Linked DNA regions of Homo sapiens: all the other regions are linked to region 1. The links are contacts of gene promoters, found by promoter capture Hi-C in blood cells and fetal thymus (Javierre and others, 2016). All regions are on one chromosome and are shown on one strand. The core of a region is centred on a gene start or on the middle of the fragment in contact, and the rest is flanking DNA. Distances in the headings are between cores, read along the strand shown.

Region 1 (7,344 bases), core at 3,253-5,752:
CTCCTGCAGGAAGCCCTTCCAGATGCCCATTCTAGCCAGTCTGGCTCTTTGCTTCCATACCTTCACAACACTTGTGCCTCCCCCAGGGCCTCTTTCTCATCTTGCTTTCTGGGGCAGCTGTGTGCACATTTGTCTGTGTGCAGCAACTCTCTAAGGCAGGGATTTTTACTCCTATTTTTGATGAGGGGAGCTGTGGCTCAGAGAGGTTGAATAACCTAAGGCCACACAGTGAGTGGCAGAGCCAGGAATGTGACTTGGGTCCATTTGAATCCAAAGTCCCTGTACTTTCCACTGCCCTACCTAGATGTCCCTGTACCTCCTATAAAATCAGCATGGAGCCTGGTGCCTGGTAGTCCCTACAAATATTCACAAATTGGAGCTTAGCTCAGCTCTCAGGCAAGGCCCAGGTCAAAAGGGCAGATACAGCTTTGGGACCTTAGTTGCCACCACATGCCATACCTTCTTCCCAGCAGAAGGACTCCCTCCAAGACAGGGTAGGGGTGGAGGATGTGAACAGGGGCAGAAATGGGCATGTTTTGGGGTCAGACTTGGAGGAATAGCAGAGATTGGAGTGTCAGAAGGTGAGCATGCCTGGGGGTGTTGGGGAGATGCAATTCATCAGGGACAGCTTAGTGTCAGGGGATTAGACTGGGGCCCATGAAGGAGAGGCAGAGGCTGATGGGCCTAGGGGTGGTGTGGGTAGGTGAGCTTCCCCAGACAGTGACTCTGCCCTGCCCTCTCTCCAGCTAGGTCCTCTTCCCCATTCCTTCCCCCTTTCCTGACTGGATCCTCTTGGGAGAGTTACCCTCCTTGGCTTCCTCTGCTCCAATCTTTTTATCAGTTGGCCATCATTACTTATCATTACCTCAAGTCAAACCTCCAGATCCACATGGGGCTAGGACATTGGCACTGGACCAAAGAGGCCCTTTCCTTTGCTTTCTCTTTGTCTTTTTAATGCTTTGTTGCAAAGACCTAGGCGGGGAGAGAGAGAGAGAGAGAGAGACAGAGATTGACCCACAGTCAGGGTCAGGGAATTGAGGGGAACCAACCCAATTCTCTCTCCTTCAATTCACCAGGTTTGTATCCTGCCCTTCCTGCAGATCAGTGTCCTGCTAGTCACCTGGGGGTCAGGGGATGGAGTGAAGGACAAGACCTCCTTCCATTGCAGTGAAGCCACTTGGAGAAATGTGTGGAAAACAGCAAGACCCAGTGACTCTCTCCTCACCTTCTTTCCAATCTCAGGAGAGATTTTGTCCCTTCATCCACCGGCTTCTAGATTAACCACCCACACCCACACAGGCGAGAGTTTCCCTGAATATTGGAGGTGACAGGACATCAGGACAAAGTACAACTATTGTGCCTTGGCCCAATCACTACTTTCTTTGTCTGGGGCCGCCGCTGGCTCCTGGCTGCCTTTCGCACTTTTCTCCACCCCCACCCCTTTCTCCCCTTCCCCCTCACCTGGAACACCTTCCCCTTCCTCCTTGGCTCCTTCTGAACTGCCTTCAGAGCCACAGACTGTGGGGAGTGGCCACTGCGCTCCCAAGGTGAGGCCCTCCAAGCGGGGCCGAGTTTGCCCCTCAACTGGGAGCCAGCATGACCTCTGTGTGGGCTGCTCTCTGCTTCACTGCCCCTTCCCCCAATCTGCTAGGTGACCCTGGGCCCCTTTGTGCCCTCTCTGGGCCTTCGGAGGATTCTTTGGGGAGACAGTCTGCTCTGACGCCCCTTCCCCTGCAGCAAGCAGCCTGGGGAGGGAGGTGAGGATAAGTGAAGTCAAGTTGTTCAGGGGGCTAAGCCCATGGAAGGGAAGATGCCACAGAGATACATGTGGTCTTGTGATTGTTGTTTTGTGCTTTTTCCCCTTTTTTGAAAGCTCAGGTGACTAGGTGACTTGAGCTTTTAATTTGGTGACAATGTGGGCACTGGCTGAGTCCTTAAGAGTACATTGTTGTAAATGCCGGTGACAACACACTGGGGCATGGGATCCAGAGTTAACCCCTCCAGGTCACAGCCAGGTTATATCTCCACAATGAAGGGGGGAGGTGGGCCATACTTTCTCGCCCTAATGAAGGTAGCTCAAAAACCCCTAGGCCAGGTTGTAATCCTAGCCTTATATAAAAGGAATTCTGTGCCCTCACTCCCCTGGATCCCTGGGCAAAGCCCCAGAGGGAAACACAAACAGGTTGTTGTAACACACCTTGCTGGGTACCACCATGGAGGACAGTTGGCTTATGGGGGTGGGGGGTGCCTGGGGCCACGGAGTGACTGGTGATGGCTATCCCTCCTTGGAACCCCTCCAGCCTCCTCTTAGCTTCAGATTTGTTTATTTGTTTTTTACTAAGACCTGCTCTTTCAGGTCTGTTGGCTCTTTTAGGGGCTGAAGAAGGCCGAGTTGAGAAGGGATGCAAGGGAGGGGGCCAGAATGAGCCCTTAGGGCTCAGAGCCTCCATCCTGCCCCAAGATGTCTACAGCTTGTGCTCCTGGGGTGCTAGAGGCGCACAAGGAGGAAAGTTAGTGGCTTCCCTTCCATATCCCGTTCATCAGCCTAGAGCATGGAGCCCAGGTGAGGAGGCCTGCCTGGGAGGGGGCCCTGAGCCAGGAAATAAACATTTACTAACTGTACAAAGACCTTGTCCCTGCTGCTGGGGAGCCTGCCAAGTGGTGGAGACAGGACTAGTGCACGAATGATGGAAAGGGAGGGTTGGGGTGGGTGGGAGCCAGCCCTTTTCCTCATAAGGGCCTTAGGACACCATACCGATGGAACTGGGGGTACTGGGGAGGTAACCTAGCACCTCCACCAAACCACAGCAACATGTGCTGAGGATGGGGCTGACTAGGTAAGCTCCCTGGAGCGTTTTGGTTAAATTGAGGGAAATTGCTGCATTCCCATTCTCAGTCCATGCCTCCACAGAGGCTATGCCAGCTGTAGGCCAGACCCTGGCAAGATCTGGGTGGATAATCAGACTGACTGGTCCCACTCTTCCCACAGGCCTCAGAGCCCCAACTTTGTTCCCTGGGGCAGCCTGGAAATAGCCAGGTCAGAAACCAGCTAGGAATTTTTCCAAGCTGCTTCCTATATGCAAGAATGGGATGGGGCCTTTGGGAGCACTTAGGGAAGATGTGGAGAGTTGGAGGAAAAGGGGGCTTGGAGGTAAGGGAGGGGACTGGGGGAAGGATAGGGGAGAAGCTGTGAGCCTGGAGAAGTAGCCAAGGGATCCTGAGGGAATGGGGGAGCTGAGACGAAACCCCCATTTCTATTCAGAAGATGAGCTATGAGTCTGGGCTTGGGCTGATAGAAGCCTTGGCCCCTGGCCTGGTGGGAGCTCTGGGCAGCTGGCCTACAGACGTTCCTTAGTGCTGGCGGGTAGGTTTGAATCATCACGCAGGCCCTGGCCTCCACCCGCCCCCACCAGCCCCCTGGCCTCAGTTCCCTGGCAACATCTGGGGTTGGGGGGGCAGCAGGAACAAGGGCCTCTGTCTGCCCAGCTGCCTCCCCCTTTGGGTTTTGCCAGACTCCACAGTGCATACGTGGGCTCCAACAGGTCCTCTTCCCTCCCAGTCACTGACTAACCCCGGAACCACACAGCTTCCCGTTCTCAGCTCCACAAACTTGGTGCCAAATTCTTCTCCCCTGGGAAGCATCCCTGGACACTTCCCAAAGGACCCCAGTCACTCCAGCCTGTTGGCTGCCGCTCACTTTGATGTCTGCAGGCCAGATGAGGGCTCCAGATGGCACATTGTCAGAGGGACACACTGTGGCCCCTGTGCCCAGCCCTGGGCTCTCTGTACATGAAGCAACTCCAGTCCCAAATATGTAGCTGTTTGGGAGGTCAGAAATAGGGGGTCCAGGAGCAAACTCCCCCCACCCCCTTTCCAAAGCCCATTCCCTCTTTAGCCAGAGCCGGGGTGTGCAGACGGCAGTCACTAGGGGGCGCTCGGCCACCACAGGGAAGCTGGGTGAATGGAGCGAGCAGCGTCTTCGAGAGTGAGGACGTGTGTGTCTGTGTGGGTGAGTGAGTGTGTGCGTGTGGGGTTGAGGGCGTTGGAGCGGGGAGAAGGCCAGGGGTCACTCCAGGATTCCAATAGATCTGTGTGTCCCTCTCCCCACCCGTCCCTGTCCGGCTCTCCGCCTTCCCCTGCCCCCTTCAATATTCCTAGCAAAGAGGGAACGGCTCTCAGGCCCTGTCCGCACGTAACCTCACTTTCCTGCTCCCTCCTCGCCAATGCCCCGCGGGCGCGTGTCTCTGGACAGAGTTTCCGGGGGCGGATGGGTAATTTTCAGGCTGTGAACCTTGGTGGGGGTCGAGCTTCCCCTTCATTGCGGCGGGCTGCGGGCCAGGCTTCACTGAGCGTCCGCAGAGCCCGGGCCCGAGCCGCGTGTGGAAGGGCTGAGGCTCGCCTGTCCCCGCCCCCCGGGGCGGGCCGGGGGCGGGGTCCCGGCGGGGCGGAGCCATGCGCCCCCCCCTTTTTTTTTTAAAAGTCGGCTGGTAGCGGGGAGGATCGCGGAGGCTTGGGGCAGCCGGGTAGCTCGGAGGTCGTGGCGCTGGGGGCTAGCACCAGCGCTCTGTCGGGAGGCGCAGCGGTTAGGTGGACCGGTCAGCGGACTCACCGGCCAGGGCGCTCGGTGCTGGAATTTGATATTCATTGATCCGGGTTTTATCCCTCTTCTTTTTTCTTAAACATTTTTTTTTAAAACTGTATTGTTTCTCGTTTTAATTTATTTTTGCTTGCCATTCCCCACTTGAATCGGGCCGACGGCTTGGGGAGATTGCTCTACTTCCCCAAATCACTGTGGATTTTGGAAACCAGCAGAAAGAGGAAAGAGGTAGCAAGAGCTCCAGAGAGAAGTCGAGGAAGAGAGAGACGGGGTCAGAGAGAGCGCGCGGGCGTGCGAGCAGCGAAAGCGACAGGGGCAAAGTGAGTGACCTGCTTTTGGGGGTGACCGCCGGAGCGCGGCGTGAGCCCTCCCCCTTGGGATCCCGCAGCTGACCAGTCGCGCTGACGGACAGACAGACAGACACCGCCCCCAGCCCCAGCTACCACCTCCTCCCCGGCCGGCGGCGGACAGTGGACGCGGCGGCGAGCCGCGGGCAGGGGCCGGAGCCCGCGCCCGGAGGCGGGGTGGAGGGGGTCGGGGCTCGCGGCGTCGCACTGAAACTTTTCGTCCAACTTCTGGGCTGTTCTCGCTTCGGAGGAGCCGTGGTCCGCGCGGGGGAAGCCGAGCCGAGCGGAGCCGCGAGAAGTGCTAGCTCGGGCCGGGAGGAGCCGCAGCCGGAGGAGGGGGAGGAGGAAGAAGAGAAGGAAGAGGAGAGGGGGCCGCAGTGGCGACTCGGCGCTCGGAAGCCGGGCTCATGGACGGGTGAGGCGGCGGTGTGCGCAGACAGTGCTCCAGCCGCGCGCGCTCCCCAGGCCCTGGCCCGGGCCTCGGGCCGGGGAGGAAGAGTAGCTCGCCGAGGCGCCGAGGAGAGCGGGCCGCCCCACAGCCCGAGCCGGAGAGGGAGCGCGAGCCGCGCCGGCCCCGGTCGGGCCTCCGAAACCATGAACTTTCTGCTGTCTTGGGTGCATTGGAGCCTTGCCTTGCTGCTCTACCTCCACCATGCCAAGGTAAGCGGTCGTGCCCTGCTGGCGCCGCGGGCCGCTGCGAGCGCCTCTCCCGGCTGGGGACGTGCGTGCGAGCGCGCGCGTGGGGGCTCCGTGCCCCACGCGGGTCCATGGGCACCAGGCGTGCGGCGTCCCCCTCTGTCGTCTTAGGTGCAGGGGGAGGGGGCGCGCGCGCTAGGTGGGAGGGTACCCGGAGAGAGGCTCACCGCCCACGCGGGCCCTGCCCACCCACCGGAGTCACCGCACGTACGATCTGGGCCGACCAGCCGAGGGCGGGAGCCGGAGGAGGAGGCCGAGGGGGCTGGGCTTGCGTTGCCGCTGCCGGCTGAAGTTTGCTCCCGGCCGCTGGTCCCGGACGAACTGGAAGTCTGAGCAGCGGGGGCGGGAGCCAGAGACCAGTGGGCAGGGGGTGCTCGGACCTTGGACCGCGGGAGGGCAGAGAGCGTGGAGGGGGCAGGGCGCAGGAGGGAGAGGGGGCTTGCTGTCACTGCCACTCGGTCTCTTCAGCCCTCGCCGCGAGTTTGGGAAAAGTTTTGGGGTGGATTGCTGCGGGGACCCCCCCTCCCTGCTGGGCCACCTGCGCCGCGCCAACCCCGCCCGTCCCCGCTCGCGTCCCGCTCGGTGCCCGCCCTCCCCCGCCCGGCCGGGTGCGCGCGGCGCGGAGCCGATTACATCAGCCCGGGCCTGGCCGGCCGCGTGTTCCCGGAGCCTCGGCTGCCCGAATGGGGAGCCCAGAGTGGCGAGCGGCACCCCTCCCCCCGCCAGCCCTCCGCGGGAAGGTGACCTCTCGAGGTAGCCCCAGCCCGGGGATCCAGAGAACCATCCCTACCCCTTCCTACTGTCTCCAGACCCTACCTCTGCCCAGTGCTAGGAGGAATTTCCTGACGCCCCTTCTCTTCACCCATTTCCTTTTTAGCCTGGAGAGAAGCCCCTGTCACCCCGCTTATTTTCATTTCTCTCTGCGGAGAAGATCCATCTAACCCCTTTCTGGCCCCAGAGTCCAGGGAAAGGATGATCACTGTCAGAAGTCGTGGCGCGGGAGCCCACTGGGCGCTTTGTCACATTCCACCGAAAGTCCCGACTTGGTGACAGTGTGCTTCCCTTCCCTCGCCAACAGTTCCGAGTGAGCTGTGCTTTAGCTCTCGTGGGGGTGGGTCAAGGGAGGATTTGAAGAGTCATTGCCCCACTTTACCCTTTTGGAGAAATGGCTTGAAATTTGCTGTGACACGGGCAGCATGGGAATAGTCCTTCCTGAACCCTGGAAAGGAGCTCCTGCCAGCCTTGCACACACTTTGTCCTGGTGAAAGGCAGCCCTGGAGCAGGTGTTTTTTTGGAACTCCAAACCTGCCCACCCAACTTGCTTCTGAAAGGGACTCTAAAGGGTCCCTTTCCGCTCCTCTCTGACGCCTTCCCTCAGCCAGAATTCCCTTGGAGAGGAGGCAAGAGGAAAGCCATGGACAGGGGTCGCTGCTAACACCGCAAGTTCCTCAGACCCTGGCACAAAGGCCTTGGCTACAGGCCTCCAAGTAGGGAGGAGGGGGAGGAGTGGCTGCCTGGCCACAGTGTGACCTTCAGAGGCCCCCAGAGAAGGACACCTGGCCCCTGCCTGCCTAGAACCGCCCCTCCTGTGCTCCCTGGCCTTGGAAGGGGTATGAAATTTCCGTCCCCTTTCCTCCTTGGGGCCCAGGAGGAGTGGAGGGTCCCGGGAGAATATTGTCAGGGGGAAGGCAGGGGGTGTCATGG
Region 2 (7,344 bases), core at 1,834-4,333, 210 kb after region 1:
CTGATCTTCCCCACCTAGTCCACTCAGACTCACATGTTAATCTCCTCTGGAAACGCCCTCATAGACACACCCAAGAATAATGCCTCACCAGATTTCTAGGTACTTCTTAGTCCAGTCAAATGGACATGTAAAATAAAGCATCACACCATAGACACTTTCTTCAAACCCTTGGGGGTCAGCTATTAGTTCCAGAGGTACAACTGGAAAGGTCTCACAGGGAGACAGACCCAGGGTGGATTCCAGGGGCTTCCCTTGCTCCAGGCCTCTGCAAATGGATGCCTTGGGAAGGGCATGAGTGAGCCTCACAGCAGCAGGGAGGGCTCAGCCTGTTCATCTCTGAGGTCCTCCCACCTGGGTTTCTGTGGCTCTACGAAGGTTTTAGCCCATATCTGCCCCACACGCGTACCTCCCAGGCAGGCCTTCCCTCCATCCTTATCTTCTCTTTCCTTCCTTCTCATTCACTCAGCACACCTTGAGAGAAGCACAGGGATTGGGGCAGTCAGTGTGGGGAGTGTGTAGAGCAAGTTACACAGAAGAGTAGGAAGAACTCAGAATGGAGATGATGAGGCTGAAGGCCAAGGTTCCTCTTAGGCTCCAGCCAGAAGCTGGGCTTGCCAGAAATTGATGCTTCTGGAGAAGGAGGAGGTGCTGATGACTCAGTGCCAGCCTGAAAGTCATGAAGGACGGGGGAACCAGCGTTTCCTCATACCCCAAAGGTCAGAAGGATGCATGGCTATACCTGTAGTGGGTTCAGGCTATAGTCCCCGGTCAATCTAGCTTCCCACCCTTGTGTGTCCCTGGGTCCTGGCTGTAAGCTAACTGAGCAGAGTTTCCCGCACAGCAGCCCTGCTGTCCCACTAGCATCAGAAGAGGAAAGCAGGACTGTCTAAGAAGCCCTGTCTGTGGCGGTGTCCACAGGGGGCGTCTGCATGGGCTCCTCACTCCTGCATGAGCCCCGAGTAGAACAGTCTCTGAGCTTGTACTGCCTGCAGAAAGAATCGGAGGAGGCCAGTCTCTGCTCCTGAAGTTATGCATCAGGGAATGAGCAAGGCTGGGTGGGTCCTGTGAGTGAGAGGATGTGCTTGCACAAGGGACCAGCGTAAAATATGCTACTTATTTGGAGCACCAGCCTTGAGGTACACCCTGAGGCGTCAAGGTCTGGGGAGGTGCTCACATCTGGTAGAGTCTGCGCAGGCCAGTGAGGCAAATATCAGGTCATCACTATTTTGGGTTTCTGTGCAGGAAGGGAGCCAGCCGCGACCTGTGCTTTCATCATAGAAGGATAGAGAGCTTCCTTCTGTAGCCCAAGTTCCTACTCACCTCCCATCCTGGCACCCCCAAATTGGACTCTTTCAGAACAGAGGCCTCTGTCTTAGCCTAGTTTCCCCTAAAAGTGGAACCTGTGGGAGCTTTGGTCTCAGGGGCAACTAAGCTGATTTGGGAAGTGATCCCAGGAACAGGATCAAAAGATGAGGGTGAGGAAAGAGTGAACAGGGTGTCAACCAATACAAGGATATGTTATCTAGTTGGCCACCCCTGTGATGGGTGTTGACCCCACAGAGATCTATTTAAGAGACTTATGAAATGTGTTTCAAAACAGTCTACCCAGAAGGGCAAAAAGGGATCCTTTGGCTCCTGTATCCCCCATTGCACAAAGGTGACTCCAGGGGAGTCCCTTCTGGTGTGCACTACTTAAGCGCTAAGCAGTTCCACAGGTGTCCACCCGTAGGACATCAGAGAAGTCTCTGGCAGGAAGTAGGAGGTTCTAGGCCAAGGCAAAGTGCCATTTAATTGCACCTTTGCAGAGCCCACGAAGCTTGCATGGAGCTGGCCTCTAAAGCAGAGGTCAGAGTAAGCGATGGGCACAGAGAAATTTGGACCAAAGTGTCCAGTAAAGGTCCTTTCTTTGTGCCTTCACCAAGCCATCAGCAGCATCAGCAGCGTGTTACAGGGCCAGCTTTTCAGAGTATGAAAAATATTTTCATAGAGTCAGAGAAAGCTCGGAGGTGGGACGTCATGGTGGGAGTCAGCAAATTCCAAGTACCTAGCAAGGTTTCAGAGCTCTGCTCTGCTTTGTCCAGCCTCAGGACCAGTCTGCCTTCTCTCCTTAAGTGCTTCCCTAGCCAGGGGGCCGGGAGCCAGAATGAAGCAAAGGCCACTCAGCCTGAAACTGCAGCCAGACCTCTCCCTGAAGAGCCTCCCTGCGCCCAGCCCTGCTGAGCCCTCTCTCCGCACACATTTCTTTCCTGCCCAGCCGGCCTCAGTTCATTTCTCAAGCGGCGCATGTGGGCTCCTCCACTTTCTCCCTGTTCAATGTCTTAGCTCCACTTTTTCCTGGGCTGCACCCCAGCCCCCTCCTGCATGCCCACCCACCCCCAGACATTGGCGCTGGCTTTCCAGGCCCCCTGTTGCTTGGCCCTTTCCAAGCCTGTTTGGGACCCAGCCCAAATCAGCAATTACAAGTACCCACTTTTCCTTCTCACTCACACAAGGTAGCCATTGTCCACTGTACAAGGGAGAACCATCTGTGCTCATGTTGCAGTAAAAAAGGTTGTTTACCCAGGGTCGTCAGCACAGCCTTCATGCTGTGTCCTCCCCACTGCATGGCAAGTGCAGGCCAAACACGTGTGGGCCTCATGGGCCCACAGGTTAGGTGCAGAGGACAGACATGCAAGGCCTGGAACAGACACAAGATGGGCACAGAATGGGGATGCAGGCTTAGAACAGATACACGGGCAGCTACCACTTGAGGCCTTAGCAGGTATGGTCCTTTCTCAGCTGTGAGTTCCCTCTGCTCAGGCCCTTAGATGGATGCTCCCTCCATTCCTCCTTCCTACCTCCTCACTTAATCCTTACTATAAGGCCAGGAGAGTGGTTCACGCCTGTAATCCCATACTCTGGGAGGCCAAGATGGAAAGACTGCTTAAGGCCAGGAGTGTGAGACCAGCCTAGGCAACATAGTGAGACCCTGTCTCTAAAAAAATTAAAATTAGCCAGGCATGGTGGTGCGTACCTACAGTCTCAGCTACTTGCTTAGGCAGGAGGATCACTTGAGCCCAAGTTTGAGGCTGCAGTGAGCTATGATCTATGATCATACCACTATAGAGCAAGACCCTGATTCTAAAAAAAAAAAAGTTCACAACCCTCTGCCCTCCAAGGTGGGTCTTACGATCCCATTTAATAGACAAGGATATAGGGGCTCAGAGATGTTCCTTAACTTACCCAAGGGGAGAGAGGAAGAAGGAAGGATGCAACAAGGTACCTATAGAGAACCCCAGGATAGCAGAGCTGGGAGAGCTAGACCTGAAGAAGTTTCTATTCTTCTTTATGGGAGAGGGGACAGTGAGTTGGTTAGGTTGTGTGGAGAATTCCTCACTGAGCTGGAACTTGGGGATTTGGCTCCAGGCAGGTGGGGCCAGCCAGAAGGGTTGCCCTGAGGGGCAGTTGGTGACCTATGAAACACTCTCCCCTCCGCATTAGGGAAGGGAGATTTTCAGCCAGGACACCCCTGCCCTGGAGACAGGGATATGTGCAAGACACCTCCTGGGGGCATAGCTGCCCATATCTGGCTTCCCCACAGCCATGATCACCCTGGTGGGCTCCTGGGTGGGGAAGGGATTGGCAGGAGGATCACTTGCAAGGGAAGTCAGAGCTGTTTCCAACATTCACAGCAGTGTCCCAAGGCCCAGAAGCCCCCAGAAGGAGCCAAAGAGACTTAGTCCCCACAGGGCAAAGGTAACCCAGGGAGCCTGGGTGGGCCTGAGTGACCACCCATGGGCAGGCCGGGCATTTTTGTTCTTGGGAAACCCTGTAACTGAGATCCTGGGGGTCCAAAGGGACCTCCAGGGTCACGTCTCTCACAGCCCAGGCCCTGCCCTGAGGACATGGGTCGCAGTGAGAAGGCCCTCCCCTGTACAACCCCCAGGCCAGTTGCCAGAACAGCAGGGTGAATATGGTATCAAGAGGTCAGGCTCAAGCCTACACTGTCCAGCCTCCCTAGCCCTTCAAGATAGCCCAGGCCACAGAAACACCAAACCAGCAAACTTGGGAAAGGCCATTGTCCTCTGCAATGGAGCTTGAATCAGCATTATCCTCTCCAGTGTTGATACCTCATAGCCTTCTCTGTCCTCTGCAAAAGGCTGAACACCAGAACATTCCAGAGCAGGACACAAGCATCTGCCGCCCTTGTTATGCCTCCTGCAGCCCAGGCCTGGCTGCCCTGCATGGCCTTGACATCTTCTGACATCTCTGGGCAGCATCTGTAACAGGATGTTTCACCAGCAGCCTCTTCACCCAGCTGACCTTGATGGGGGGCACATGGAGAGAGAGGAGACTGCCAGCCACCCCAGACAAAGCTTGCTGGTTCTGCCCCTACACTCTGCCCAGGCTCTACAAGCCTGAGCCAGAGTGGAAACTGGTTGGAGGCTGGAAAGTTTGGAGGAAAGCTTTCTGATGGGAGGTGATGGGGAGAGCAGCTGAGAAGGGGCTGGTCATGGTCTCCCTGGGTGTCAAAATTCTAGAATCAGTGAATCCCTGCAGCTCAAGACCTTGTGCCTACAGTGTCTGAGATGTGTGTTGCTCCATACGCCCTGGGGAACCAGCTTCTAGGTAAGCTCTCAGAAATCCCACAGTGTTGGAGTCACAAGACCTCTGAGATACAGCCCTCCAAGTTTTCTATGGCTGCAAAACAAACTATTCCCAAACATAGTGCCTTAAAACAATAATGGCTTAATTTCTCACAATTCTGGTGGTAGTCCTGGCTGTTCTGCAAGTCTAACCTGGGATTAGGCCACTTAATCAGCTGCATTCAGCTGGAAGGTCCAGGGTGGCCTCAATGGCAACTCTGAAGCCTCCGTGCCATCAACCGGCTTCCGTGTGCCTCCTCTTAGTGCCTGATCCTCCAGAGTCTCTCTCTCCAGCAGAATAGCCTGGACTTCCTTACAGCACGGTGCCTGGCTTGGAGGAAGAGGAGACAGGGAGGGAAGGCAGTCAGGCCTCTCTAGGGTTGAGCCTGGGACTGGCACAGCATCATTGCATTTTTTTCAGTCAAAGCAAGTCATAAGGCCAAGCCAGAATCAAGGAGAGGGAAAATAGAAACCAACTCTTGGCAGTAGGAGTAGCAAAGACTCTGTGGACATCTCTCACCCACCTCGGACCTTTATCAGTCTCTGGAGAGTCAGGACAGAGCCAGATTGCCTGACACAGACCTGGAAACTTAGAGATGGATGAAGTCCCCATTCCTGCCCCTGGGACTCTCTGCCCTCAGCCCCCAAACCATGACCTTCCTGAGTCCCTCTGCTCACAGTGACCCTGGAGGCCTGGCCTGGGGGTGGGAAGGGCTGGGATCGGAGCTGCACAGGGTGGTGGGGAGGAATTAGGTCCCTTTTCATACCAACTGTTGAGGCATCTGAACTTGATCTAGGGATGGGACTTTGGCTATGGGATGTGGGGAGAGGGTGCCCCCTCCATGCAGAGGCCCTTCCCACAAAGGCTTGAGCAGAGCCTGAATGTGGACGCAAGGCAGGCTCCACTTAGCTCTCCATGTTCACCTGTCCACAGGTAAGGCTGTGACAGATGAACTGAGGCCACCTGTCCTGGGGAGGCTGGTCCTAAGGGACCCCAGCTCTTCCTCTCCTCTTCCAGGTGATCTCCTGCACAGGTGCCAAGTTCCCACCACACTGAGCTGCATTCAGCAGGCCCAGATGTTGGGCAGCCAAGTCGGTCCCCTGAGGACCCACCCCTCCTGTCTGCTTTCATCTAATTTATTCACTCAACCACTTGACAAATATTTACTCAGCACCCGTAAGATAACAGGCACTGTGTTCGTCGCAGGGGATATATCAAGTGAGCAAAAGAAAAAAAAACCCTATCCTCTTGGAGCTCAGATTCATGAGACGGTGGGAGGGAGTGTGTCTGTAGACAATAAACTAAATAAATCAGTAAATTACGGAGTCTTGTGGCTGCCATAACAAATCACCCACTTGGTGGCTTACGACCAACAGAAATGTGTTCTCTCACAGTTCCGGAGGGCACGCATCTGAGCATCACTGCTATCTCTGCCTCCATGTTCAGGTGGCCTTCTTCCCTCTGTCTCTCTGTGTCTCCTCTTCTCATAAGGACATTAGTAATTGGACTTAGGGCCCACTCTAAATCAAGAGAGCCTCATCTTGAGATACTTAATTATATCCGCAAAGACACTATTTCCAAATAAGGTCACATTGTGAGGTTCCTGGTGAACATGAAGTTTGGAGGGAGACACTATTCAACTCACTGTGGCCATATGCACGGGTTCTAGGGGTTAGAACATGGACATTTTGGGGGACCACCATCCAACCCACTGCAAACATATTAGAGATTTGGAGAAAAATAAAGCAGGGTAATACAGAAGAGGGGCCCTGTGGTGGGATTGGGAAGGCAGGCCGAGCATTCAATAGGATGGTTAGGAAAGACCTCACTGAGAAGGTGATATTCAAATAATGACCTCAAGGAAGTGAGGGGGTGACGCATATGGCTATCTGAAGGAAAAGCATCCAGGCAGAGGGAACAGGTAGCACAAAGGCCCTGAGGCAGGAGCGTGCCCAGTACATCTGAGGAATAGGAGGCTGGAGCAGAGTGAGCGAGGGCTAGACTGGTGGTAGGGTGGGATTGCTGGGGACTTGCAGGCCACACTTAGGACTCTCCCTTCACCCAGAGGGATATGGGAGCTGAGGCAGAAGAGAAACTTTGTTTTCATTCTCACTGCAGAGCTGAGCGTAGACTGTCTGGGGCCACTGGCTGAAGTGTAACTGCCCACTCCCCCGCCCCGCCAGGGCTGGACATGGGCAGCACGCCCTCCACGGCTCTGGGGTGGCTTCCCAGGACTGTGTCATAGACAGGCGCCTCCGATCCCCTGCCACTGGACCCCCCGCCTGCCCACAGGGCTCAGGTTTCTCCTCATCAGCTGTATCCACCAGAGCTTGGGAAAGTCGGCTTTCCAGGAAGATTTCATCATTTTCCATTCGGAAAAGTTTGCTGCTCCCACCACTCCCTCCTCTACTCCCAAGGCTGAGAAACAAGCACTGAGACTTTCTGGAGCTCAGAAAGGCCCATGGGCTGGGGCAGGCGAAGCTTCCAGCCTGCCTCATGGCCACCTGCAACCAGAACCGCCCCATTCCCCAGCTGGCCAGACTCCCATCTCCTGGGGGATCCTCACCTGCCCCCACCCCATGCTTGCTCCCCATGGGATTCTCTGTGGACTCCCCCATCATAGTCTTCTGCCCTGGCACCTCTGTGGCCTGCTAAGGGGGAGGCCACCCCACCAGGCAGAGAAGGCACTGGAGAGAGCTGCGAGAGGAGGGAAGAGGG
Region 3 (7,344 bases), core at 3,200-5,699, 160 kb after region 1:
AGGCAAGTTATTTTCCATCTCTGTGTCTCTACTTCCCCACCAGGCCTTGCTACAACTGGTCATGTGACCTGAGACCAGCTCCCCCTCCGCATCCTCAGTTTCTCCATTTACAAGGAGGAAAGTTATCCAGACAATCTTTAAAGTTCAGCTGGGGCCTTCTCTTAGTCTAAGGTGAACTCTGTTTTTCCAAAGACTAACCAACTAGCCAGCTCACCTGGTACCTTGGAGACCAGGGAAATGGGCCTGGCAACCCTGCCCTCTAGCCATCTGCATGAATCAGAGCCCGGTGAAGCAGAGGGGAAGTCAGTCTCAGGCAAATCAAGTCACTGGTGGCACTGCTCCCCGTGAGCCCGTGTAGACACACCCTTTACTTCCTCCTGGTGGAAGATTTGGCCTTTCAGTTTAGCCTTTGCAAACAGCATTTACTTGACAATGTTTTCTTAGCAGCCCTATTCTTGTACACAGGAAATAATCCCATTAACTTTATTATCTCTGCAAAGAAAGGACAAGGATATAGATTTGCCCTTAAGTTCAATGAACTCAGTTCTCTCTTGAAAGGAAAAGCACAGAACTGAGGCAATTGCCTTGTAGGAAGCTTTCTTTGGGTAAGACCTGGCTCTAGTGGAGAGATATTGCAGCTGCCTTTTGAACTGTGGCCCTCAGCTGCTCTGGGGCCCCCAAATCTTCTCTCTGGGCCTCACTTTCATCCCCATCACCACCTCCTCACACCTACATTCTGTTGACTGAGGGACTGGACCAAACTGATGGAGAGAAGTAGGTATTCTCAACAAGCAAGGAGAGGCAGAGGCGATCGGGAGGGAATCCCGACTAGCACTGCCTTCGCTCAGACCCCAGCATTACTCCCTTGGACTACTGTAGAGACCTCCAGTCTTGGCCCCTCAGATCTCTTTGCTCCTTTGCAGCCACAGGACCTTGCTAAAAATTGTGGCTGATCACACTCTTCCCCTGCTTGAACCCCATCAAAGGCACCCCTGTCCAAAAGTCCCAGGGCCTAGTAGGCTCCACAGGCTCCCCAAGCCTGGGCCGTGCTTTTTTCTCCAGCCACTTCCTTCTACTTGCAGCCCAAGCTACCCTGAATCATTGGTCCTTTCCAGCAAACCCCAGGCTATTTCATACCTCCACACCTTTGAGCGAGCTGTTCCCATTGCCCGGACTGCCCTTCCCCTTGTTCACCTGGCCAACTTAGGTTCAGTCTTAGGGGCCGGGCACGGTGGCTCACACCTGTAATCCCAGCACTTTGGGAGGCCAAGGCTGGTGGATCACTTGAGATCAGGAGTTTGAGACCAGCCTGACCAACATGGTGAAACCACGTCTCTACTAAAAATACAAAAACTAGCCGAGTGTGGTGGTGGGCTCCTGCAATCCCAGCTACTCAGGAGGCTGAGGCAGGAGAATCGCTTGAACCCGGGAGGTGGAGGTTGCAGTGAGCCGAGATCGCGCCATTGCACATGGAGGGCAACATGAGCAAAACTCCGTCTCAAAAAAACGAAAAACAAAAAACAACAACAAAAAACAAAACAAAAAGAAAAAACTAAAAGATGCAGCCTAGGAACCTTGCTTTAGTATTAGTATCCCCTCCTCCCAGAACCCCTTCTCCAGGCAGCTCTTCTGTGCCTTCCAACATGAGCAAGCTCTAGCCCAGCAAGTCCTTATGTGCCATGTCCCCCGGAGTCCATGAGCTCCCTGGGGAGGAACTGAGCATCCCATAGTCAAACCCTCACAAACATCTTCTGTGTTGAACTGCTGCCTTTTCCTACAGCAAGCAAGAGGCAGATGTAGCCTGAGGCCTAGGGCTTGGGGTGAAGTCTGGAAAAGTTGCTCATCCATTCATTCACTTATTCATTTGTGTCATCTGAATACATGTAGTGAGGGGAGGGGGCAGGGATGAGCAGGCTGGGAAGGGAAGGACCAGACCTATCAGCTTCGTATACCACCCTGAAGGCACTTATAGGCTCCATGGAAGTCCCTGGCCCTTGGGTGGGTTGGGAGAATATCCCAGAAGCCAGCTCCCAGTGCAAGTTGGCCTCCAGGGTGGACAGACTGCCAGAGCTGGGCTGACGGTGGCACTGGGGGCTGCCTTGTGTGTTTTAGCCCAGCAGGGCCTGCACCTTGCCGACAGCGATCTCCCAGCTGCCTCAGTACAATCAACAGAAGCTGAGTGTGAGGAGGTGGCAGAGAGGGAGCCATGTGAGGCATGTTTTCACGTGTCAGGAGCTCTCAGCATGTCCCCTGTTGGTGAGGGGGCTGTCCTTGTGTCTGCATCACTAAGGAGGTGACCACTTTGCTCTCGTGTCAGGGTGACATTAGATCCCTAAGTTGTGACCTCACTCAGGTATCCGTCCTTGAGTCCCATCTGCCTCTGAGTTAAGAGCCAAAATAACAGCAGAGACATGGCTGCCTGAATACCCTTCTCAGCAATGGCGAGACACAGAACAAGCATGGCTGTCCCATTGGATGGAACAGGAGACCGGGACTCAGGGATATGGACACAGCTACCTGAGGTCACACAGCTCATGTGGGCCTCCTATAGCCTGTGAGGTACACCTTTCCTTCTTCCACCACCCTTAGGGGTGGAGCTGTGCCCCATATTTGGCCTTTACCACATCCCAATGTAGGTGAAAATGTGAATGACAATAATAACTGCATATAGTAGATGCCTACTTTGTACCTGGCACAACTTAAGTACTTTCTTCTCATTCATTCAATCAATAATATTTATTGAGTGCCAGGCACTTTTCTAGGTGCTGAGGATATGGCAGTAAGCAAGGCAAAGTCCCTGCACTCAGGGAGCTCCCATTTTAGTGGGAGACACAGACAATAAACCAAGAAGTGAGTACACAGAAAATAGGCAGGCCGAGGTGCGAGGATGGCTTGAGTCTAGGAGTTCAATGCCAGCCTGGGCAACATAGGGAGACCCCATCCCTACAAAAAATCAAGAAATTAGCTGGGCATGGTGGCACACACCTGTCATCTCAGCTACTCAGGAGGCTGAGGTGGAAGGATCGCTTAAGCTCGGGAGGTTGAGGGAGGAGTGAGCCATGTTCGTGCCACTGCACTTCAGCCTGGGCGACAGAGGGAGGCCCTGTCTCAACAACAACAACAACAACAACAAAACAACAAAACAGAGAAGAAAAGAAAATAGGTGAGGTGGTAAAAAGTAAGTGAAGAGAAAGGGTGGAGAGCGGAAAGCCTCTGATTCAGTGACATTTGGGCAGGCCCCTGAAGGAGACATGGGAGGGGGCATAGGACTATTTGGAGGACAAAAATGACAGGCAGAGGGAATAGTAATTGCAAAAGCCTTGGGACAGGAACGTGCTTGCTGAGTTCAAGGACAGCCAGAGAGCTGCTGTGGCTGGAGCACAGTGAGGAAGGAGCAGAGTGGCACAGTGTAGAAGATGAGGCCTGTGCCAGTCATAGGCCAACTCATTTGACATTACAGCAATGCTGAGTACCAGGCACTCTTGTTATTCTCTAGCTAATGAGGAAATTGAGATACAGAGAAAAGTAATCCACCCAAGGTCACACTCCAGGCATGTGGTTCTATGTTAGCGATTTGGGAGCATCCTTCTTGGCCCAGAGCACTGGTTCCCAGTCCCAGGTATGGATTAGAATCACCCGGGGAACTTACAAAGAATCCAGATGACCAAGTTTCAAATTCTGACAAGCTGCCTAGGTGATTTTGACAGAATCTTTATGACACCAGCTTTGGTGACCCACTGGGGAATGGCTGTAGACAGGCGAGGTTGGAAGAGCAAGCACTTGGCCAGGAGCCTAACTCTAGCTCTGCTCTGATCTCTGAGCCACTGCATTCGCCAGTCCTCTCTGAAGCCCAGTCTCTTCGTTTGTGAAATAAGAGAGTTGAACTCCATCAGTGAACTTCTCGGTTGCTTTTTAGCAGTAAAATCTTTCATTCAATTAGGTACTAAGTGGAGCCCAAAATACGAAAGAGGTCAAAGGAGCTTTATTTTGGGGGAGGAGTGGGATTCAGGCCATCATTCCCTTGGGAACCTCTGAAGCATAATTTTCCAATTCCCTGGAGCTCCGATCTCTGACGACATGCTTCAAGTTCTAGATACCCATATTGGGTCCTTTTTTCCCCCAAAGCAATGTCCCCTGGAATGGCCCAAAGCTCCTGGTGCAAGTCCTATAAATCCTATTCAAGGAGCACTACGAGGAGGCTGCCCAAACCCTGGCTCTGAGTTCTGAGGAGTCCTGGGTGCCTGGTGCCAATGAGGCAGGGGGTTAGGGCTGGGCACACAGTGAGCCTCTTTCAGCTCGCCTGTGTCTTCCACTTGCTGTCCTGGCTGGGGAGGAGGACATGGTGAGCCCCAAGCACTTGGGTTGATCCCTGTTCCAGTGTTAGGAACCTGTACAGGGGTAGCAGCCATCCAGCTGGTGGAGGCAGAAATTTGCTTCCACACCAGCGGGGCCTTTGACATCTTGGTTTTACCCTTTCCTTGTTTTGGAATAGTAAGAATGCCTCTGCCTGACCAGGCCCTTGGAATTGGCAGTTCTTCCACAGCCATCCTCCCGGAGACTCCACCCTAAGGGGAAGAGAAAAATGAGGTTCAGAGAGATCAAGCAACCTGCCTGGGGTCATGTGGCTAAAACTGTGGTGAGACCAGTCCTTGAATCCCAAATCCAGGGCTTCGCCTGCTAGTGCTGAGGTCCTCTTAGGCAAGGGGAGACATGCCCTGGAGAAGACAGCCCCCTGCCCTGACAGAGTCCATACTCTAGGGTGGGAGGTAGGGGGTATCCTCAGGGCCAAGTCAAACTCCTATATGTTCCCTCAACATCCAGTGCGTTCCCCTGCATACAGCAGGTGCTAAATTATTGTGATAATCATGCTTTGGAGTTAGAACTGAAACGAGCTTACAACCTGAGATGCCTTGGACTCTGCTTGGTGTTTTAGTTTCCTCCTCCATAAAATGGGGATAATAATGCTGAACTTCCTGGCCTGGCTGTGACTGGGAAAGGGGCATTGTGAACGGTAAAACAGCCTCGCTTTGACTGCAGGCCCATGACAGTACCGCATAGTAGAAATTGTACTCCCCATTTTATGGAGGAGGAAACTGTTAGTTGGAGAGTGAAACCCAGGTCTAGGGCCAAAGCTCATGCTCCTTCCACTGCACTCTGCTGCTTCCTATTACGGTCCCTGCGCCCAGCATGGTGTTTTTCAGTTTTGTTTTTGTTTTCATTCTAAGTCCCCAAGTGAGACAGGGCGAGATGGAAATGAAGCCCACAGGACCCCTCCCCTGCAGCTGCGAATAGCTTGGGCCCTGGGAAGAACGGGCTGGGTGTGTGCTCTGGGCGTGGAGATGCCCCTTTCTGCCAGCATGTGGAAGTGACATGGATTCCTCGGCATTTCCTCTGTGTGGGGGTGGGCAGTGGTGGTTCATGGAGTCCCCTTTCCCCCAGGATGGATGCTGATTGTCTCTGAAGACTTCACTGGGGTTCACTTTCTGTTCCATGGCCACCCTTGGGTCTGAAGCCTGTCTCCTCCCCAGTACAGGCATGTGGGTGCCCTGGCCACCCACAGCAGGACTGTAGCCTTGGATAGACAGAAGTCCAGGAGTCAAGAGGCTGGGTTTGACCCCAAGGACAGCTGGCTCCTGTGGGGAGACCTTCTCTGGCCCCCAGAAGGAGTCAGCTCAGCCTTAGCCAGGGAAGTGGCCCAAGGGCAGGCCCAGGCCTTGGGTCCCCTGATGTCTGCAGCTGCTCCCAGGACCACCCCATGAGATAGAGGCTACTGAGCCCCGAAGAGACCTGTGGGGCCGCGGCGGGGTGGTATTTTCTCAGCACGATTTATGTGAATGTGCGTGTGTGTGAGTGAGTGTTTAACAAGGAGTGGGGCCTGCTCGACTTCTGAGCCTGGAATTTATACAGCCCCTCGTTGGCGGCTGCAGTTTATCTTGAGCAAAAGAATAATAAACTCAGTTGACAGAATGATGTATTCAAAGCATCTTCCCGTCACAGCACACAGCCCTGCCCGCTGTTAGGATGTCTGCTGTGGTGGGGACCGTGTTATCGAGTGTTTAGCCCCCACGATTGTCAACAACGCATTGTTTGCAGGCTTGGGGCAAGGCAGAGATGGGCCGGGGCTGGGGTGAGAATGGAGAGGGGGGTCTGGCCACACGGACGAAAGGACTGCTGCCCAGATGGGGTCAAAGAGGCGTCTGCCTTTGATGGAAGCCCAGGCTCCATCTGAGGCCCAGCCCCCTCTGGCTGTCCTGAGTCTTCCTTTCCCTGCCTGGGAGAAAATCCTCTCTGTTCACCTCCAAGCTGGTCCTAGTCTAGTACCAGAGGTAAAGGCACACACCTGGGTGTCACTGCACTCCACAGTATGGGAAAACCTCCCCTACTCTTCATTTCTCGTGTTTTTCTTAGCCAAGCAAAGAAATTAGCATCAAACTTCAGCGTCAAAAAATATGCAGACTTGCTAAGCCTCGGAAAGGGTGAGGGAAAGCTGACAACCTAAGAGCTTCATGAGAGAGCTCTAGCCCAGTTCCTTGTGCCTCTGCTGGGCAACCTTAGGCCTCAGAACCTTTTTTCCTCCCCATGTAGGAGGGGAGTCACAATGCTTATCTATCTATTTGATAAGCTACACTGTTGCCACACATTAAGGGTTTGTTATAAGGATGAAATAAGATGAGGATCAGGCAAACACTCTAAAAACTTGGAAGCTGGAGATAAATTCAAATTATAATTTTTTTTTTCAAAGCTCCCTTCAACTTCAGGCAGGAGTGCCCTGGCTTTGCCTCAGCCACTGTGCTTCTTCCTCAGCCTTCAGAATGGGGAAGTCCTGTCTCTTGTCTAATCTCGAGCTCTCTCATTTCAGTTCTAGTTGTTCCTTTAGAACCCTTCATGCATATGTTCCAGTTCTGATCCTCTCTCAGGATCTCCTCTTTTCTGGCTTAATGGTCCTTCTGGCTCACAGGCTGGGCCCTCCTGCCATCCCAGCTCCAGGATCCTCACTTTCAAGAGGAGCGAGTCGCTTCTAGTCCTGTTCTAGAAAGCAAGGTGGCTCTCCTGGGCCCCACAGACAGAAGCCCCATGAGGCCTGCAGGGGCAGTGGCGGGGACAAGAAGGGAAGGAAAGCCCCATGCACCAAGTACTGACCAAGCAGCTGCTCCATCCCAGGGTCAATTTGGAACCCCATCTAATTCTCTTAATCATCGGTATTATCCCCATTTTACAGATTTGGAAACTGAGACTGGAGAAAATTCAGTCTCTTTCCCTCAGGAAGGTGGCAGAAGGAACTCAAGCCCAGAAGGTGTGGCTGGCTCTTGAGTTAAACGTGACCCCTATTCTTAAAGGAAAGCA
Region 4 (7,344 bases), core at 2,592-5,091, 140 kb after region 1:
CACATCCACAGATGCAAAAACTTGCACAAACACATCCACATTATGTGCACGAAGAAACATGCCCACATCTGCATGTGTGTGCACACAATCACGTATGCCTGCCTGGCCTGGTTTATATGGGGAGTGATGGAAGAAGGCCATTGGCCTCTCCAGGTTCTGTATGTGTCTGGTGACTTGGAGTGAGTGTGTTTCTTTACTGTTTCCTTGGAGTTGCATCATAAAGTGCCTTCCTTGAACAGGGCCGGTACAGGACCAGGTCAGCCTGTCCTCATTACATCAGCAGGGTGAGCCAAGGGAGGTTGCCTAAAAATTCAAGTAAGTAGTCCCCAGCCCATGGAGGCTTGAGAGACCCCCAAACCCCTCCCTTTCTCTGGAGTCCCACCTAGGGTTAACCACTGGCTACACTCCCAGGGAGGCCCCAAAAGCTGCCAGATTATGCCCTTTAAGAGATGAGAAAATGGCTTGACCAAAAAAGTTAATGTTTGTAAACACCAGTTTAAGGAGAGAAGGGATTTCAAAGCCTCCGCAGCCTGCTGCTCCACACCTCTGAGCATCTGGGAATCTCAGCCCGGGGCTGTGCACACAGTAGGAGCTACATCGGCAGCACTCTAGGGAATGGGGTCTGACAAGTGGTGGGGGGTACAGGGAGCCAGCCCCAGAATTCAGAGGTAATGCAGACCCTCTTCACGTTTGAGGACCCTGCCTGCATCACTTCCAGCCCAGAGGTTCTTAGCTTCGTCATCTGCTGGGGGTGAGGGACCACCAGTTTAGGGAGCCCCCTGCAGAGGCCCCCTGGATTGTCCCTTCTTTTCCCTCCTTGGCCTTCCTCCCAGCTTGGTCTCCCCACCACCCCCAACACTCCCCAGACACATTCCTCTCCTTCAGACTTTCGTTTCAAGGGCTTGGTGATTTCTTTGCAGGATTTGATTTGCCGCTCAGGCATTTCCTTGAGTGGCCCCTCGGTGTTTGCCCTCATCCAGATGGCATCCAGATGCAAACATCCCCCCTCCCCCAGCTCCGGCTCCTCAGCTAGGGGAATTGAATCTTGACCCCCACCTCACACCCACCTCCCTGCATCATCAGCTTTGTTTCTGGGATCTGAGGTCAGGGCATGGACTAACACCTCTGCCTGTGGCTCTCTCCAAAGCCCGACTTCTGGCCATCCTATGATCTGCCTCCCTCCTCCGCCTTTGTTCAATTCAGCAGGTAATTGCTTCACAGCCAAAGCAAATGTCAGGATGATAATGAGGGAGATATGATGCAGTTCTGGCCTAGGCAGGGAGGGGGAAGAGCAGGGTGTGTGCTTGTGTTGAGGGAGCAGGTGCTGAGGGCCCTGATCTCCAGCTGAGGTCCTAAGAGATGACCAAATCCAGGTGAGGGAACTGAGGAGAGCAGATGATAACCATGCTAATAGTTACAGAACAAGGTCCATGTGCAATAACAACGTAAAGACCAGTTCATTTAGTCCTGTGAGCTGGGCCTCCTTATTCCCATTTTACAGATGAGGAAACTGAGGCCCAGAATGGAGAGAAAAAAACGACCAGAGCAAGCACCTGTATAATAAATTCTCTGTTCCAGGCACGACATAAAGATCAGCTAACTTAACAAGGCGTTCTTTGGAACACCTTGAGAGCTGGACACTCTTGTCCCCATTTTATAGATAAGTTAACTGAGGTTCAGAGAGGCTTAGTAACTCATGCAAGACTCTGTGGCTTCTTAAATGGCAGAACTTGGCTCCAAACCAAAGGCTTCCAAGGCCCATGGCGCTTCTTGTGTGCCCCGATTTGCTCAGCATCAGGGCCAGACCTTCAGGAGCTGTCCCCAGAGCCCTATCCTGACATGGTGACCATCGCCCTGATGGGAAATGTCTCAAGGAACCTGGGGAACAGTCCTGGGTGAGAATCCCTGTGCCTGGGGGAACCTCACTGTTTCTCAGAGGTCAGGCTCCAGGCCTCTTAACTCTCTGTCCAGTGCTGGACTCTTGACCCAGGGCAGGACTCGCTCTTGCGAGGCCCTTGCTGACCTCTGCTCAAACCCTCTGCTTCCCCTTCAAAGTTAATATTTACATACTCTCTGCCATGCCTCTGTGATGCTGCCATAGATATCAAAGTGCTTCCTGACCCCAGAGACACCCCAGGGCCCCCAAAACCCCTCCTAGGCTCCATGCTCCATGCAGGGCCCATCGACCCTCAGGCGGCCAGAATGATGGGCAGCATGCTGTGGCCAGATGGACTGTACTCTCTTCACCGCGCACCGTCAAGCTTCCTTGACAGAAAATGGGGCATTTGGCCCAGGCTCAAAGCTGCAGTGTAGGCATTTCCTAGAACCACTGGGCATTGGACCCCAGAAGTGTGTGATGAGTCGGGGCCAAGGGTCAGGCTGTCCCAGCTCTGTGCCTCAGGCAGCTGTGGGGGTGGCCTCCAGCAGGCCCTGCCTGGTAGTACCTGGTGGGCCTGAGGTGTGTGCGTAGAGCCATCCAGGCCCACGGGAGGAACATCCACCTGTCTGGACTCACAGCCCAGAGAACAACAGAGCTGGGCATGTAGGGCAAGTTAGGGGCAGGGCTGGAACTTCTCACCAGCCCGCCTCTCCCCAGTACCTCCTCCAGGTGTCCTCCCAGCGTGCTAAGAGGTGGATGCCAGCATTGGCCAGACCCCCTCCTCTCCCCGCTCCCTTCCCTCTGTCTTCCGTCCTTCTGGCTCTAAGTGAGCTCAGCTTTGCAGTAGAAGGGAAACCTGAGGAACTAAGGATTTCTGAGCTGGGCTCCTCCCCCAGAGGGTCAGAGGGGCTGTTTTCAGCTGGGAGCTGGGGTGACTTGGAACCCCAGAGAGCTTCAGGGAAGACCCCAGGCTGAGCAGGAGAGAGGAGCATCCCTGCAGCTGGCAGTCTGGAAGGGCTGGCTGGCCTAGGTCCTTGGGGCTGGGGTCCTCAGGTGGGTGCCTGTTTGCTTTCTGAAGAATTCCTGCAGGAAGCATGTGGGTAAGTGTCTGAGAATTTCAGTGATGGTCAGAGGGAGAGGACACTGCTACCAGCCACATGTTGGTGGCCAGGTGGCCTGGGAAGGGACACCGTGGCTGGCACACCAGGCCCTGCAGGTTAATGTTTGACCTGGAGCCACGTGTTTTTCCACTGGGTATTTTTATCCTCTGTACCTGGCAGTGGGCAGCTGGAGGGAGGGAGGTACCCAGCTAGTGTCTCACTGGGCAAGACAAGGCTGCAGAGAGGCCAGAGGGGCCAGCTGAGGGATGCAGAACAGGGGATTGAAAGAACAGGAGGGAGTCCCTGGAGCAGGCCGACTCCCCACACCTCAGCTACACTCCCAGCCCTACTCTGATGCCACCCCATCCCTGGCTCTCCTCTCTCTGTTAGGACTAGCAGTGGTGAGGAGATGAAGAAGATAGGGAGGAAAACCAAGAGATCTTCTCAGGGGTCCACAGCTTCTCAGGAAAGTTAAAAATGTCCCCTCCTCTCCCCATATTATCTCATTGGTAATGAATCACTCTCAGATCCTGTGCATCACGAGTTAGAGATTTCCTCCTTCTGCAGACACTGCAGTCTTACTCTGATTGTGGGAGTAAGTCACAGCTAACTGAGGTACCCTCTACCCCTACCTGCACCCCCAGGGCCAATCTGATGAGGGAACACAGCCCTGCTCCCAGAAAATCCCCAGTCTAAGAGGGTAGGGGCTGTGTCTCAACTCACAACAAGAGCTTTGCCCCTTTGCATCCAAGAGGCCTGGAATTGAATTGAAACACCCACTGGGTCCATAAGCTCCGGAATCCCAAGCCCTCCCCATCTCTCTGTTTTCCTCCTCGGCAAGTAGGGAGTCTTGCCTGAGCTGACTTTGTGAGGCTCTTTACAGCCCAGTGGGCAGAGTCCTTCTCACTCATCATGGGGGGACAGGGGAGGGAGGTCCTCGAAGGCCACTTAACAGGGCCAGCTGATGCCATGGTGCCAGTCGAGCAAAGCCAGCTTCCTTCCTGCACCCCCACAAGGTCCAGATGGTCTTTGAAGTTACACTTGAGTCCAGTAGTAAGTGGGTCTCTGAGCAAACCTGCCTACGAGCTGACACCACCAGATCACCAGTGGCTTCCCAGCCCCAACACTCACCAGAGCTGGATCTGAAGCAGGCTCGGCGGCTGCCCACAGCCCATGGTATTTCTTAGGGCTCCCTGAGAGTCCTGCAGCGGGAGGAGCAAGGCTGTCTAGGGGAAATCAGTTCCCTCTGAGCAAGGGGCTTCCTGGGATTGGCAAACGAGAGGCCCCAGGACAAAGGGGGATGGGCATCTGCCAGAAGAGCCTAGATCTCCAGGGAGGCCTCCCAGTTCTCTGGCAGTGCCCCCAGGATTGCCCTAAAGTGGGGTGCAGGAGCAGGGCAGGCGAGCGGGAGACTGTCAGCCTGGGCACATGGAGGAGGGCCCACTTCTTGGTCTGGAGCAGGACCACAGATCATCTCCTGATGTGGAGATCAGTCTTTCCCACTAGGGGACTTAGCTCCCCACTCTCAGCCTGCCTTCCTGCGGGTCTTCCCTTTCCTGTGCACCCTAAACCCCCAGCCACCTCTCTATTCCCCAGTACATGCCAGGCACTGGGCTAGGGCCATTTGCCTCCCCCACTCCTCCAAACCTTGGTGGTGAATCTCTTCACCCTCATTTTACAGATGAGGAAGCTGAATAGAAGTATCATTAAATAATTAACCCAAGGTCACCCAGCCAGTCAGCGGCCTGGCTGGGATTAAACCTAAATCGGTCTGACTCCAAGTCCAGCTGAGAGATCATATCAGCCATGTATCCTGTGTCTTTTAAATCCCACACTTCCCCCTCTCCCAGAACCCTGACCATCAGCCAGACCAGAAAGTCTAATATAACTGGCTCCTACAACCCACCGGTTCATATGTCCCACCATCAGGATGCCCTCCTGGCATCCGAGCTCACACCTCCTGCTGTCTTTTACCCTGATATCAGGGAAAGAGTGGAGCAAAGATGGTTCCCCCACCCTGCCCCACGTCCTGTTTCTGTGTCCCATGGGACTGTGGCATTTCTCTGTGGCTCTGCAGGGTGGGTTGCTCCTGGCTGCGAAGCCAGAGTCTCAAACACTTGGGAAGGAGGGGGCTCTGAGGTTTTGCTGGGAGAGACAGGTGTTCTCTTGGGCCGCCTCACAGAGGAGACTTGGGCCTTGCCTTCAGACCCTACCATTTCCTACTGAGTCCAGGACAGGTGAGGAGAGAGACAGAAAGAAGGTGGGGACTTTGGAGACCTTCAGAGGGTCCTTAGCTTCTGATGCTGTTTTGTTCTTTGGGACAAGTTGAGGTCATGCCTCTTGGACACCAAGAAGTCCTGGGGTTTGGAAATCCCCACATGGCCCTCACACCCTTGTTGCCCTCAGACCTTTAGTTGTGGAAGAAACTGAGTGGAAAGGACACAAGCTTGCATCCATTCCCTGAAATCAAGGAGTTCAGTTCCTCATCTGGGTGAAGAGGAAAGGGGAATTCCAAAGACTCGGCTCCAGTGCCCTGGTGTTGAACCCAGATCTTCCATTTCTTAGAAGCCTGCTGTTTTCTGGTAGAGCCTTCTGACCTCTGGCTTCTGGCTGAGTTTGGCAGGTGGATCAATTAAACCCCAGTGTTTGGAGAGGGGGTTGAAGGGACACAGTTTGGCTCCTACAGCTCCCTGACTCAGGAGATTGGAACAGAGAAAGCCTCTTGACCCTGAGCCCATCAAAGCTCCTCTCTCAGGTTTGCCTTTTCCTGCCCCTCACAGCCCTCCTCTTCTCGAGAAGGCCAACCGTCCCACCACCGCTGTGGGAAGAGGGGCAGCGTGGGCTGGGCTATCAACTGGGGCGTCTCCTATCTGTATCCTCAAAGCTTTCTGAGTCTCCTGCACTCCCTGTCCAATGGACATGGGTTTTCTCCCTGGGCTGGGCCCAGGAGAGATTCAGAATAGGAGCCAACAGAGGCCCTGAACTCAAGATCCTGCCGTCAGAATGCAGACACAGTCATGCCCATGGATTCCAGGCCAGCATTAGTGCCAAAGAGAGTAATCATAATAGCTAAGTTTCCTTGAACACTTCCAAAATGGGCACTTTATATCCATTAACATGTTTAATCCTCGAAACCACCCTGGGAAATTGGTGCTATCATATCTGCATTTTACAGATAAGGAAGCTGTGGCTCAGAGCAGCCAGTAACAGGCCCAAGGTCTTACAGCAAGGAAGTAGCAGGAGCAGGATCTATCCCAGAGCCTGTACTCTTACCTTCTTCACCTGTGCCATTCAATACAGTGGCCGCTAAAAGCATGTGACTATTTAACTTTGAATTCATTAAAGTTCAATGCAGTTACAGTTCAGTTCCTCACTGCACTAGCCACCTTTCAAGTGCTCAGCAGCCACATGTGGCTAGAGACTGTCACATTGGACAATACAGATATTAAATGTCTCTATCATTGCAGAATGTTCTATTAGTCAACACTGGTCTACAGCCTACTGCCTCTCAAGAATAGAGATGGGGCAATGGAAAATCATCCTTCAGTTAGTAGACTAAAATAATAATTAACAATAATGATACCAATGGCTACAATTTACCAAGAGCTTCCTCTGCGCCAGGCACAGTGCCAAGCCCATAATCCTTACCCAATCCTAGGTTCAGGAAGGTAACCCAGGGTCACAGTAGCTAGGAATTGAATCCAGGTTTGTGTGGCCTCAGAGTCCAGTCCACTGGCCCTCGCCCTCCTGCCCCACCCCCTGCCCGGTCCCCAGCAGTTTATAGTCCCTGGGGGAAGGAGGGGAAGGCAAGTGCGCTGTATTTCACAAGACCAGGGATTAAATAAATCAGCACGTAATTAACATCATCACATTTCCCCAAGCCCGCTGACCAGAACATTGTGCTAATGAGGTCAAGGTCTTGATGTTGAGCCCTGTGAACATCACATCACTTCACTTCATGGGAGAAAGGCTGGCTCCCTGCCCTGAGGGCAGCCCCCCACACTGTGATTGGGAAATAGGGAGAGTGTGGATGTTGCAGCACAGCCTGTGGCCTGCTCTGAGGCTTAGCGTAGTAGAGGGTCGGGCGTCCGGCCAAGAAGAATCCTATTAAACGCTATGGGGATGTGTCTTCTGGACAACTGGGAATCTAGAAAGGATGGGGTTAGCAGAAAGCAAAGCCTGAGTGTGAAGAAAAGATGCAGCAGAAGATAGAACAGAACTTCTGAGACTTGCTTCCTCTTAGTTGGGTAAAGCCTTTTGGGCAACATGGGGACATACAGGAATTTTTGAGGGCTTGGCTTGGGTGGGGAGATCTGCCTTTAGTATCCTGTAAGGATTGCACTATTTGGCGGAAAGTTAGCCCAG

What was found. The method cuts DNA at HindIII sites, captures the fragments that hold promoters and counts their contacts. A CHiCAGO score of 5 or more calls a contact.
Region 2: a contact is called between a fragment that was not itself captured here and the fragment with the promoter of VEGFA in region 1, in 7 of 17 cell types (megakaryocytes, erythroblasts, monocytes and 4 more). The highest score is 8.8, in megakaryocytes.
Region 3: a contact is called between a fragment that was not itself captured here and the fragment with the promoter of VEGFA in region 1, in 6 of 17 cell types (erythroblasts, monocytes, megakaryocytes and 3 more). The highest score is 8.1, in erythroblasts.
Region 4: a contact is called between a fragment that was not itself captured here and the fragment with the promoter of VEGFA in region 1, in 1 of 17 cell types (M1 macrophages). The highest score is 5.3, in M1 macrophages.

What each region holds. Positions count from the first base shown.
Region 1 is chr6:43,765,709-43,773,052 of GRCh38, forward strand. It overlaps VEGFA (vascular endothelial growth factor A), which reads left to right and starts at 4,503. Exons shown (of 8, transcript NM_003376.6): 1 at 4,503-5,604. The coding sequence starts at 4,999. RefSeq lists silencers at 4,316-4,565, 4,943-5,882, 5,953-6,472 and enhancers at 4,928-5,693, 5,694-6,459, 6,460-7,225, 7,226-7,344. The HindIII fragment of the contact is 11,673 bases long and covers 1-7,344 here.
Region 2 is chr6:43,978,023-43,985,366 of GRCh38, forward strand. No RefSeq gene overlaps it. Among named protein-coding and RNA genes, the nearest start is that of LINC03040, 19 kb to the right of the region's middle. RefSeq lists an enhancer at 6,932-7,344. The HindIII fragment of the contact is 2,539 bases long and covers 1,815-4,353 here.
Region 3 is chr6:43,927,612-43,934,955 of GRCh38, forward strand. The region is part of intron 1 of LINC01512 (long intergenic non-protein coding RNA 1512); the gene reads left to right. Among named protein-coding and RNA genes, the nearest start is that of LINC01512, 40 kb to the left of the region's middle. The HindIII fragment of the contact is 7,713 bases long and covers 594-7,344 here.
Region 4 is chr6:43,910,676-43,918,019 of GRCh38, forward strand. The region is part of intron 1 of LINC01512 (long intergenic non-protein coding RNA 1512); the gene reads left to right. Among named protein-coding and RNA genes, the nearest start is that of LINC01512, 23 kb to the left of the region's middle. RefSeq lists enhancers at 282-846, 847-1,409, 2,483-3,272. The HindIII fragment of the contact is 3,164 bases long and covers 2,260-5,423 here.